4 separate regions of the Homo sapiens genome follow, and regions 1, 3 and 4 are each linked to region 2. Evidence: promoter capture Hi-C in human tissues and cell types (Jung and others, 2019). All regions are on one chromosome and are shown on one strand. Each heading gives the region's core, a stretch centred on a gene start or on the middle of the fragment in contact. The rest is flanking DNA. Distances are from core to core; before and after follow the strand shown.

Region 1 (2,700 bases), core at 65-2,564, 41 kb after region 2:
ACACGTAAACACTCTTCAAACACACCACAGACAGATGCACATCACACTTTCCTGTTCTTGGGTTTTCCATCAATAGTTTAAAAATAACGATTATGACAGTGATAGTAATAGCAGCAGCTGCTACACTCCCTTAGTCACAGAGACATTAGAGGGATAAGGAGACAATATCTGAATGTGTCTTTTCCAGGCTCTGCCACATTTGCCAGCAGGATTTGCATTCGTGATTGGGACTGTTTCACAGGCAATTTATTTCCCATTAAAATCATTCCCACAAGTCCATTCCAAATATCAGTACAGCTTTCTTTTGGCAAATACATCACAACTGTTAACATTTTGATAGAAAATTAATACTTACAAGGTGCTTTCATAAACATTATCTCATTTAAGCCTCACAAGAACCTTACAGCAAAGAACGTTCAGAGAGCTTAACAATACTTGTAGCAAAGCTTGCAAAGTTACCTGTCAGGTGTTGGAATTAAGACTTGAATTTATATCCGTATGATCTCTAATCTCTTTCATACCCCCACACAAAGATGCTTTTTGAGAACCCTTGCCTGGGAGACAGTAAGCCTGAATGGAAAATTCAGGTTTTACCACTTCTGACACCTCTCAGTACCTGCTTCCTGTCTGGAAATGGTCAAAATAAGCCCCCTCTCACAGAATCAATGTTAAATGTGATAGTGTGGATAAACCATTCTACAAACTTGCAAGCATTTAACAGAGGTTTGTCACACAAATATGACATGTAAGTGTAATGTTTTACAGAAATTTCAAACTGATTTCCATACTGTCAGAATGATAGCTATTGTATGATTGTTGCTTTCAACAGTTCGAGTCACCATTTTGAAGAGTGTGCCTAATAAAAATGTAGACAAGTTGTAGCCATTGGTAAATGTTGTATAAGAACTGACTTTATTTTTCAGTTTGGGAAGACTTTTCCTGCATCCCTTTACTCATTTTAATTTCTTCTTCACACTTTTGCAGATGAAGAAAAGCCAATAAAATAACAGCATTGGGCCTGATGGTGTGGCTCATTCCTGTAATCCCAGCATTTTGGGAGGCTGAGGAGGGCAGATCATTTGAGGCCAGGAGTTGAGATCAGTTGAGACCAGCCTGGCCAACATAGCAAAATTCGGTCTCTACTCAAAGTACAAAAAATTAGCCTAGTGTGGTAGTGCATCCCTGTAATCCCAGCTACTTGGGGCTGAGGGACTAGAATCACTTGAATGCGGGAACTGGAGGTTGCAGAGAGCCAAGATCACGCCACTGCACACTGCACTCCTGCGTGACAGAGCAAGACTCTGTCTCCAAAAACAACAACAATGACAAACGAACAAACAAAAAAAACAGCGTTGATTTTGCCTCCTTAGAAAGGACTATTTGCTAAATGTGTGATGTGTATAAAGGTGCATAGTTCAGATAAGTGATTAGTGCTATTCTATGTTTCCTTGATGTTTCGCCCAAGCTTAGTAAGGCTTTTTATCCATTAAAGCTTCATTTTCATTTTGTAGACATGAGTATAAAACATGTAAACATATAATGAATACATTATTTTAAAATTAAAAACTGTTACAACATATTTTATATTATAATTATTGTTACTATTTCAAAGATTGCTTCATGGTTTGATAGCCTTTCTTGCGAACCTCAGGTTTAAAACAAAAATTGCCATGAATGTTCTTCTGTGACATTCTTTGATTAATTAATTCAGAGAGCTTTATTTACTGAAAAAAAATCTGATCATCAACTAAGTGGCTCAATAGTTTTGGTCAAGTAGCTCATCTAGAGTACAGCATTTATAGTAAATAAAGTAAAAACATTTTTTAAAAGTGCTTTGCAATCCTCAAAGCACTTTTATTACACACATATATAGACACAAAATACACATATCAGGGAAAAATTATAAAATATCACACTATGAATATTGGCTAGCTGTATGCCTTAGGTGGCAGCACCATTCATAAAGTGCCTAGGATTTGTCTGTTGTACATCTTGCTTCCTAAATCACAGTAAATGAGGCAAAACCTTAAATAACACTCACTGATCCACTAATCCCATTAAAGTTTTTAAGGCAGGATTTCAAGATCTATTGCAATAACAAACATCAGTTACAGCTAACCGGATATTGCTGAGTGAAAAAAAAATGTGTTTGCCATTCACTTTTCCAGGTCTTTCTTTTTCTTTAAAAAATCAATTTATCTTCTTCTAGTATAATCCATTCTACGGAATTAGATTGAATTAGTTTCAAGCAGATTACAGCGTCAGCAGAAGAGTTAGCAGAAAGTAAGTTAGTGCACATCCCAACATGTCCTTAAAACTGATTTCTTTAATAACTACTGCTGAAAATGTAATGAATTATATAGCATAATAAGGAAAAAAGCAATAGTTTTAAATAAATTCAACAATGAAAAAGGGTGTCTTAAAAAGAACTATCTTGCTTTCTTTCTGCTGAAAGGCTGAAAGCTCCTCTAATTTCATAAACATTTTCCTGCAATTCTCATACTGTTTGGAGCTACCATCATTACCATCTCATTTTTCTTTTACCCCAGGACTTCCGAATTGGGAGATCTTGCTGGCTGTCCTTGCATACTCGGAGCTTTCCTATTCTCCATTCCTTTGGAATCTAGCTTCCACTCTCTCTCATTAAAATCACTAGCTCTTTACTTGGCCACAAAAGCCCCCTTTAGACCAAAGGCTACG
Region 2 (2,700 bases), core at 49-2,548:
CAGCAGGTCTGCAGTGAGGAGGGATCGCACTCGCGTTAACCCTTTGAAGGGAGTTGGGAGATCTGTTCTCACTTGGGACCCGCTAAAGTGGGGCCAGTGGAGCCTGACAATCTCCCTCCCGTTCCTACACGCCCCCACCCCCCCAGAACCAGAGCAGGCTGGCACCTTCTTCCCCGCTGGTGGCCAGTTTTAATCAGCTCTCACTCTGCCCCAAACCTGGGATGGGGGAGGGGGCTTGCTAGAAAACAGGCGGCGAGGGAAAAAGACAGCAGGAGGGCAGAAGGGAAACTCAGTAGTAAATCATAGTTGAGACACAGTGTTTACTTACGAAATTTGGGGCTGGTGCTAGTTTCTGGTGTGGTGGTGGTAGCGGAGGAGGAAGAAGAGGAAGAAGAGGAGGCAGCATCCTGAAAGGGAGACAGGGTCCAGGAGGGAGTAGAATCGTGAAGGTAGGAGGAGGTAGCGTATGCCGCAGTAGGCCAGGAGGGCATTGCCTGGGTACTTGGAGTTCCTGGCACCGGGGGTCGGGAGCCCAGCGTGCTGCTACTGAAGAACGGGGCCGTGGTGGACGGGACCGTCGCAGGGGCCGCAGTGTTCCGTGCTGTGGTGGAGCGCGGGCTGGCCCGGATGGGCACCCGGTGCCCGGGGAAGCGAGTGGGCGCCCGCGTGATGGTGGTCAGGCGAGTGCTAATCCGGTTGGGCGTCCTGGAGGAGGCGGCACCCCCGGCGGAGGGGGTGGCGGGGGACGTGGTGGAAGTGGTAGTGGTGGTGGTCTCCATGGCCTTGGGGAAAGAGCTGGGCTTGGAGAGGAAGAAGGGGTCCTGGCCCATCCCCTTGGAGTCCACTAGGTCGGTGGGCACGTACTCCTTGACGGAGCCCACCACGATCCATTTGAGAAGCATGAGGCTGAGCCCCAGGCCGATGAAGCCGATGAACAGAGGTACCACGCACAGCCACGTCTGCTGCCGGTTCCACACGATGCAGTCGCTACAGCGTAACTCCCGGGGGGGCTCGGCCGCCCCTTCGCCGCCGCCGTCCGGGCCCCCGCCCGCCGCTGCCGCCGCCGCAGCCGCCGCGGTGCCCTCCTCGGCCGAGGCGGCGGCTGCCGAAGCGGCACCAGGTGGCGAGGCAGCGGCCGCCCCTTCACTCATCCTAGGAGCCGGTCTTCACCTTCGCCCCCCCGAGGGCCGCGGCAGAGGCATGGGGCCGCGCGGGCCGGGCGCGGGCGCGGGCGCGGGCTCCGGCGGCGGCGGCGGGCTCGGGCGCAGGCAGCGGCCGCGGCGGCCGCATGCAAATCCGCTCCCTGCCCCCACGCCCCTCCCCCCGAGAGGCGGGCGGCGGGCGGGGAGGAGAGGAGCGGGGGAGGGGACGGGGCCGGGGAGGGGGCGGTAAGGAGCTCGGAAGAGGGGCGAGACGGGCCCCCGGCGCCTCCGGTCGGTCAGAGAGCGGCGGGGCGCGTCTGCAGCCCTCCAAGCCGCCTCCTGCGCGCCGGGTCCCCGCGCCCGCTGCTGCTGCTGCTGCCCGCCGCCTGCGTGCGCTCCAGGAGCGCCGACATCCTCGGGGCACCGCGCCCAGCCCGCTCCCTGGGGCGCCCGCTCGCGCCGCGCCTGGGCCTCGCGCCGCCTTCAGTGGCCCCGGCGGCCGGTCGCGGGGTGCCGGGTGCCCGCCACCCGCATTCCGACACAGAGGGCCTGCCTGGCCGCCGCGATCTTCGGCGGCTGCTCCGCGAGCCCGGGCGGTGAGGTGCACCTGTTCTTCAGCCGGCCCGCAGCCAACCCTCGGCCAGCACTCTTCTGGAGAGACCAATCCCAGCGCAGCGCGGAGGGCTAGCGGCCCGGCTCGCCTTGCTCCAGCCGTTCGCTGCTGCGCGCCGCTGCCGCCGCCGCCGGAGAGTCAAACTCCAGCGAACAGCGCCGCTGTCGCCGCCGCGAGCCAGGGGCTGGGGGCGCACCGGGCGCCCGCGGCGGGTGCGGTCTGACCCGCCTCCGAGGGACCCAACAAGCAGGCAGAGGATCGGAAATCACGCCCCGGCGCCCTGCCCGGTTGAGCGTGGGGGACGGAAGCGGGAGACTGCGTCGGGGGTCCCGGGGAACGCAGACCCCGGGCTGAGGGCGTCTCCAGACGGGCTCTGGCTGCCAGGCTGGTGCGTGTGTGTGTGCAGAATCGCCGCGGCGGGCTGGGATTCGGGCAGAGTAGCGCCTCCCACTAGCAGCTAATGCTGGTTTCTTAATGCACACAAGATAGATAAATGATCCAAGCAAACCCCCGTTTGCGGTGGGGTGGGGGGGCAAAAGCAGCTTCCGACCGATTGTGAGTCGTCTCCTGTACGGATCCAGTGGGGTCAGAGACTGACGCTGCTGGGCGAGGGGGCGGGGGCGGATGCGGGTGGGAGGGTGCCTGTGCCCTCCCCTGCCGGATGGCGGTGCGGCTGGATGGAAGGCCACCTTTGCCTGAGTTCCTGAGAGATGCAGGTGGAGCAGAAGACCTTTGTATAATCAGACCTGTCAGATATCTCCAAGCCATTTATGTGAACTTGCCTTAAAATATTGTCTTTACCTGTAAATGTACGCACAGGTACACACGTTACAAGGCAAGTGTTTGTGAGAGGTAAATATGAAAGGATTTGGGGTTGGACTCCCAAATTCCGTTACTGCTTTCTTCCCTTGGCTGGGGAGGCACCTGTGTACCTATTTCTCCAGC
Region 3 (2,700 bases), core at 123-2,622, 61 kb before region 2:
TGCACAGGAAAGCAGTCAACACAGTGAAAGGCAACCTAGAGGATGAGAGAAGATATTTGCAAATCATATATCTAATAAAGGGTTAATATCCAGAACATATAAAGAACTCCTACAACTCAACAACAACAAAATAACTCCATAAAAAATGTGCAAACAACTTGAATAAATACCTTTCCAAAGAAGATATCCAAATGGCCCACAAGCATATTAAAAGATTATCAACATCACTAATCTTTAGAGAAATGCAAATCAAAACCACAATGAGATATCATGGCCATTATTAAAAATAATAATAATAATAAATGTTGGTAAGAATGTGGAGAAATTGGAACCCTTGTGCACTGTTGTGAATGTAAAATGGTGTAGCTGCTATGGAAACATACGGAGGTTCTTCAAAAAAAATAAATAAATTACCCATATCCTCTAGCTATCCCATTCCTGAGTATATATTCAAAAGAACTGAAAACAGGACCTCAAGGAGACATTTGCACACCCATGTTCACTGCAGCATTACTCACAATAGCCAAGAGGTGGAAGCAACCTAAATGTCCATCCGTGGATGAATGGTTAAAGAACACGTTTTCTATGCATACAATAGAATTCGTTCAGCCTTAAAAAAGAAGAAAATCCTGTTATATGCTACAACATGGATGAACCTTGAGGACATTATGTGAAGCGAAATAAGCCAGCCACAGAAAGACAAATGTTTCACGATTTCATGTTTGTGAGTTATCTAAAGTAGTCTAACTTTTCAAAGGGAACTGAGGTTCAGTTCTGCAAAAGATGGAAAAGTTGTAGAGATCTGTTGCACAACAATGTGCATAGAGTCAACATTAGTGTACTGTACACATGACATGATGATTAATTTTTTATGTGTTTTTTATAATAATTTTTTAAACACAATTTACACATGGCTTCCCCTCCCCTCATCTTTTGGACCCTACCCTCATGCTGCCTAGAACAGATGTGGAGGGTAAAGCACTAATCACCATTTTGGACCATGACAGCAAGGCCCATACCCTGACTATAGCAGGGTGGTGAGTTAGAAAGAGCTTCGGCCCCAACCACCTTACGGAGCAAAACCAAAATAATATCCCTAATCAACCAACTAATACAAACTGTAGCTGACACAGGGTCTCTCTCACATGTTCTCTTGTGAGCCATCTGTGGTTCTCCCACTCACTTCTGTACACACAACCATCCTCACTTACACTGTCTACTTCCTGACCCCTTTCCTGCTTCCCTCCCATCCATCTTTCACAGTTATCAGAATACAGTCATAAAACACCAAGCTGATCATGCTTAGTAACCTACAGAGACTCCTTCAAAACCTAATTCTAAGCTACCTCTCCAGACCCACCTCATTTCAGTTTCCCTTATGCAACTGTTGGGAATAGAACTCCAATCACAGTTTGGTTCACTGTTTCTTGAATGTTCCATACTCTTTTCAAACTCAGAGATTTTATCCAAGTTACTCCGAGTGAAATTCTCCTTTCTTATATTTCTCCCCAGCCTCTTCTCAATCTTTTGACATATATTAACATGTCAGTTCTCATTTCAGTTTTTTCCCCAGGTCCCAGGTATAATTATTCACTTTCTCCACTGTTCCCTCTATTCCATAGGCACATAACACAAGGAAGTATAATAGATCTCCTTCTATCATGTCTGCCCACTTACATGGTGAACACAGGCAGGACCATAACTGAAACACGCCACTGCTGTGCAATTGGGGACATAACACTGGGTAAGACAAACCAGTTCCTTCCCCCCAGAGAGCTGACATTTTAACCATTTTAACACAGGAAACTGTGTGTGTGTGTGTGTGTGTGTGTGTGTGTGTGTGTGTGTGTGTGTGTTCAGGCACTGAAAAGTATAATGAAAAAAAGCTGGGTAAATTGAGAAGCTGGACAGTGAAAGTGACTCCAAGGAGGAACAAAGGGTTGTGTAACAAAGGGTTATACAGGTTGGTCAGGAAGGCTCCTCAGAGGAGGTGGTCCTGAAGCAGGGATATGAATACTGTGGGAGAAGTCTCAGAGAGAGTGGCCCATGCAACAGAAACAGAAAGTGCTCAATCCTTCTGTCAAATAGGCATCAAGAAGAACAACAAAGGTGGGGAGGGGGTGATGTTATCCACAGTTTCTTTGTTGTTGTTGTTGTTGTTGTTCCCTGAAATAGGTCACAGATGACAAATGGGCTACTTTAGCCACTATAACAAAGTATGGCAATTAAATCCACCTAAGTATAACCTGACTCTAAAGTTTCTCAGCTACTAAAACCTATCTTTTCCTTACTTACCTTTCATCCTTATACAATAAATGCATTTTGCAAACTAAAAACAAAAATCGTCATCTGGTGCTTCTGATGTTGCTTAGGAAATTACTCATCACAAATTATTCATATAATGACAGAACTCCATTGAGTTATTTTTTCCCCAAAATGACATATTAATACCTAAGGACACATGAATATCTTGCCAAACAAACTCATATTTGCAGATAATTATACTTAGTGCCAAATAGGCTAAAGCTCTCTAAAGAACAACATAAAAAAGCGAATTCCATATTTATCTGGAAAATTGTTCCTCTACACTTTAAACCAAAGGGTACTAGGAAATTTCAATAGCAGTCTCTGGGAATCTTTTCCTTTACCAAATTCCAAAGCTTTAATCCATGAATAAAATAACACAATGTAATAAACAGC
Region 4 (2,700 bases), core at 55-2,554, 44 kb before region 2:
TCATATTAGGTTATGAGAAAAACATTAGAAGAAACATATATAAAAATGAACAAAGGAATCCTGTTCTGTTCTATACAATTAATTTCTGTTCAGATTGTAAAAAATGTTACTGAAGTAGATGTATAACAAGGAAAAATGTTCACAAAACATTAAGTGAATAAGATGAATTAGAAAAATGTGAGCCCATGTTTTGTGAAATAAGATGTGTACTTACTGACGTGTACTACTATTCATAATATTATAAATTTGGAAGTATATCTAAAAATAAGCAAAAGCATTAGCTTTCTGGGGTTGGCATAATTACAGATTATTTGAATTTGATTTTGTTTAAACCTATATCAAAATTTTCCAAATTGAATATCCATATGCTATTTGGGAAGAAAAGCTTGAAAAGTTCACAACAAATTGATGTCATAAAGTATCATTTTTTTTTTAGACATGGATAGTCATGCTTATTAAACCTGAGTGGGCTGTGATCAATGCTTAGAAGGAAGGAGACTAGAGGGAGGCCCCCTAGTGGTGGGGGCTAAGATTAGGGGTGCCTGGGCAGCAAAGCACCAGGAATCGATGCCACAGATTCTTCAAAACTCCAATCAAATAGAGTGAGGAACCCTTCGAATTTTCTTTTTGGTTGCAGGGTGCTAAGGGTGAGGAGCATTGACTTTAAGATTTCCTGTCCTGCCAAGCAGGTGGCAGGTGCTTCAGTTGATCCAGCAAGATCTCATCTCTTTTCCAGCCCTCCTTTTCCCAGCGTGCTCCCTGCACACTTCTTCAAAAGTGAAGTCAAGGCTCCCTTTCTCATAGTGTCATCCTTACACCTCAGGCCATAAGACAGCTGTGTCCACTGAACTCCAGCAGAATTCTTTCCATCATCATCTGGTACTTGATATTCATTCTGCCTTGAGGCACGTCTTATAAAGTTATTTTTATTGTTATTTAATTTTTCGTATATTAGTGTATCTGTCAGATGTGGCTAGCAGTAGCGGGGAAGAACAAAATCAAGAAAGAAAACTTCAAATAAGGCCTTGCCAAGAATAAAACACAATTGACGGCAGGTTTCCTGGTTGGCTGCACTCACCCCTCATTGCCACTGTTTCTGCTCAGCTCTGCTTGTGTAATTGCCCCTCAGACCAACTTCTGAGGTGATACCTCTGGACATTCATGGGTGTCTCATTTTGTCGAGTGCCTTAGTGCTTCATTTGCCTTGGTTTTGGTGTCCCAAAATCTCCTCAATATCTAATCTCAGTTTCCCTCAATAATTTTTGGGGGAACCTGTCATTTGCCATGTCCATGTTGGCAATGAAATTGATACTTAATAAGAATTCCACCCCATCTTTAATACAAACACACAATCTTTTTATCCCTTACTAGACTATAAATTCTTTGAAGCAATGGATTATATTTGATGATGATGATGATGATGAAGTTAATGAAAATAACACCCCAGGCAATGTTATTTATGAGTTCATAATACATGCTGTAATCTCTGCACGCTGCTACCAATCCTGACACAACTTCAAAATAAGTATTACCATTCTGCCATCACAGATTAGGGAGGAGACGTTCAAAGAGGTTTAAGAGGCAGATCAGATCAAGTGTCGACGCTCGGTTTTGAAGCAATGTCCATCTGATTTTCAGCGCTGCCACACTTATATCCTATTCTTATATATTCTTATATCCTATCCTAACTCAGCACTTCTTTTCAGCCCTGGGGCCCATGCCATCCCTTCAAGTGCTCTATCCCCTAGTCCCATACATATGAAGTTCTAGGCTAAGCCTTTTCCATACAAACTCTCAGTTAATTCCAACAAGAATTCAACAGATGGGTTACTGAATTTAAAAATATTTATTACATTTACTTCCCCCAAACACAATGGAAACAGGAGGGCTATATAGTATAATTGAACCAAAGCTGTGTGTGTGTGTGTGTGTATGTATGTGTGTGTGTGTGTGTGTGTTTTGTTATGATGCAATAGTAGTTAATGATTTGAAATAAATAAATAAATAAGCAATGTGTTGTTAAACACCAGATGTATTTCAAAACTCGTTTGACAGAAAATTGCAATGATTCTATTCAATGCTTATGGCCAGTTTTGTGTTTGTTTTTGTTTTTTGCAAAAATCCTAGTAGTATGAACAAAGTCAAGGAAACCAGTTGCAGCAGGTAAAATACAGAGAAAAAATTAACAGCATTTCATTAGTAAAATAAAATAATACAGCTCTCTATCAGCAAGTCCTCATTTGCCTAAAGCATCTTCTTTTGACTGAATTTAAAATAATTTTCCAATAATATCAAAGAAAAGAGGTGCATGCTACACATGCAAATAAGGCATTAATTAAAATGGCTTCCCTTTATGCTTCATTACTAACTGCTAAACAGAGCATATAAAATATCATTTATAAATAGAAAAATCCAGAACACAGGGTAATAGGGAAATAAATGGCCTTGTATTTCTTTTGTACGTGATAAAAAGCAGATGATGGAGTACCTGATCTGAGAAATCCAAAATGTTGTCACAGATTTATACTTGTGTTTACTCTGCCCATATAACAGAGAGATATCCCAAATGGCCAATATCATATGTGAATTCAAGCCTGAGTCAGAGGACTGCAGTTCTTTAAATCAATTCACTGGGAAACTAGTCCTTGACCTATAAAGAAACATTCCAAATACAACAAATGCATGAGCCAGCTTAAATCC

Evidence for each region. Contacts are between HindIII fragments. The study calls those that stand out against the background at their distance.
Region 1: a contact is called between a fragment that was not itself captured here and the fragment with the promoter of NRG3 in region 2, in 2 of the 25 tissues and cell types used here (hippocampus and liver).
Region 3: a contact is called between a fragment that was not itself captured here and the fragment with the promoter of NRG3 in region 2, in 2 of the 25 tissues and cell types used here (hippocampus and neural progenitor cells).
Region 4: a fragment that was not itself captured here is called in contact with the fragment with the promoter of NRG3 in region 2 in 3 of the 25 tissues and cell types used here (adrenal gland, hippocampus and small bowel).

What each region holds. Positions count from the first base shown.
Region 1 is chr10:81,832,544-81,835,243 of GRCh38, reverse strand. No RefSeq gene overlaps it. Among named protein-coding and RNA genes, the nearest start is that of NRG3, 41 kb to the left of the region's middle. The HindIII fragment of the contact is 5,275 bases long and covers 1-2,700 here.
Region 2 is chr10:81,873,792-81,876,491 of GRCh38, reverse strand. It overlaps NRG3 (neuregulin 3), which reads right to left and starts at 1,298. Exons shown (of 9, transcript NM_001010848.4): 1 at 329-1,298. The coding sequence starts at 1,151. It overlaps LOC124902549 (a long non-coding RNA gene), which reads left to right and starts at 1,974. Exons shown (of 2, transcript XR_007062377.1): 1 at 1,974-2,143. RefSeq lists an enhancer at 1-349. The HindIII fragment of the contact is 10,350 bases long and covers 1-2,700 here.
Region 3 is chr10:81,935,033-81,937,732 of GRCh38, reverse strand. All of the region lies in intron 1 of NRG3 (neuregulin 3), which reads right to left. Among named protein-coding and RNA genes, the nearest start is that of NRG3, 61 kb to the right of the region's middle. The HindIII fragment of the contact is 3,968 bases long and covers 1-2,700 here.
Region 4 is chr10:81,918,233-81,920,932 of GRCh38, reverse strand. The region is part of intron 1 of NRG3 (neuregulin 3); the gene reads right to left. Among named protein-coding and RNA genes, the nearest start is that of NRG3, 44 kb to the right of the region's middle. The HindIII fragment of the contact is 6,280 bases long and covers 1-2,700 here.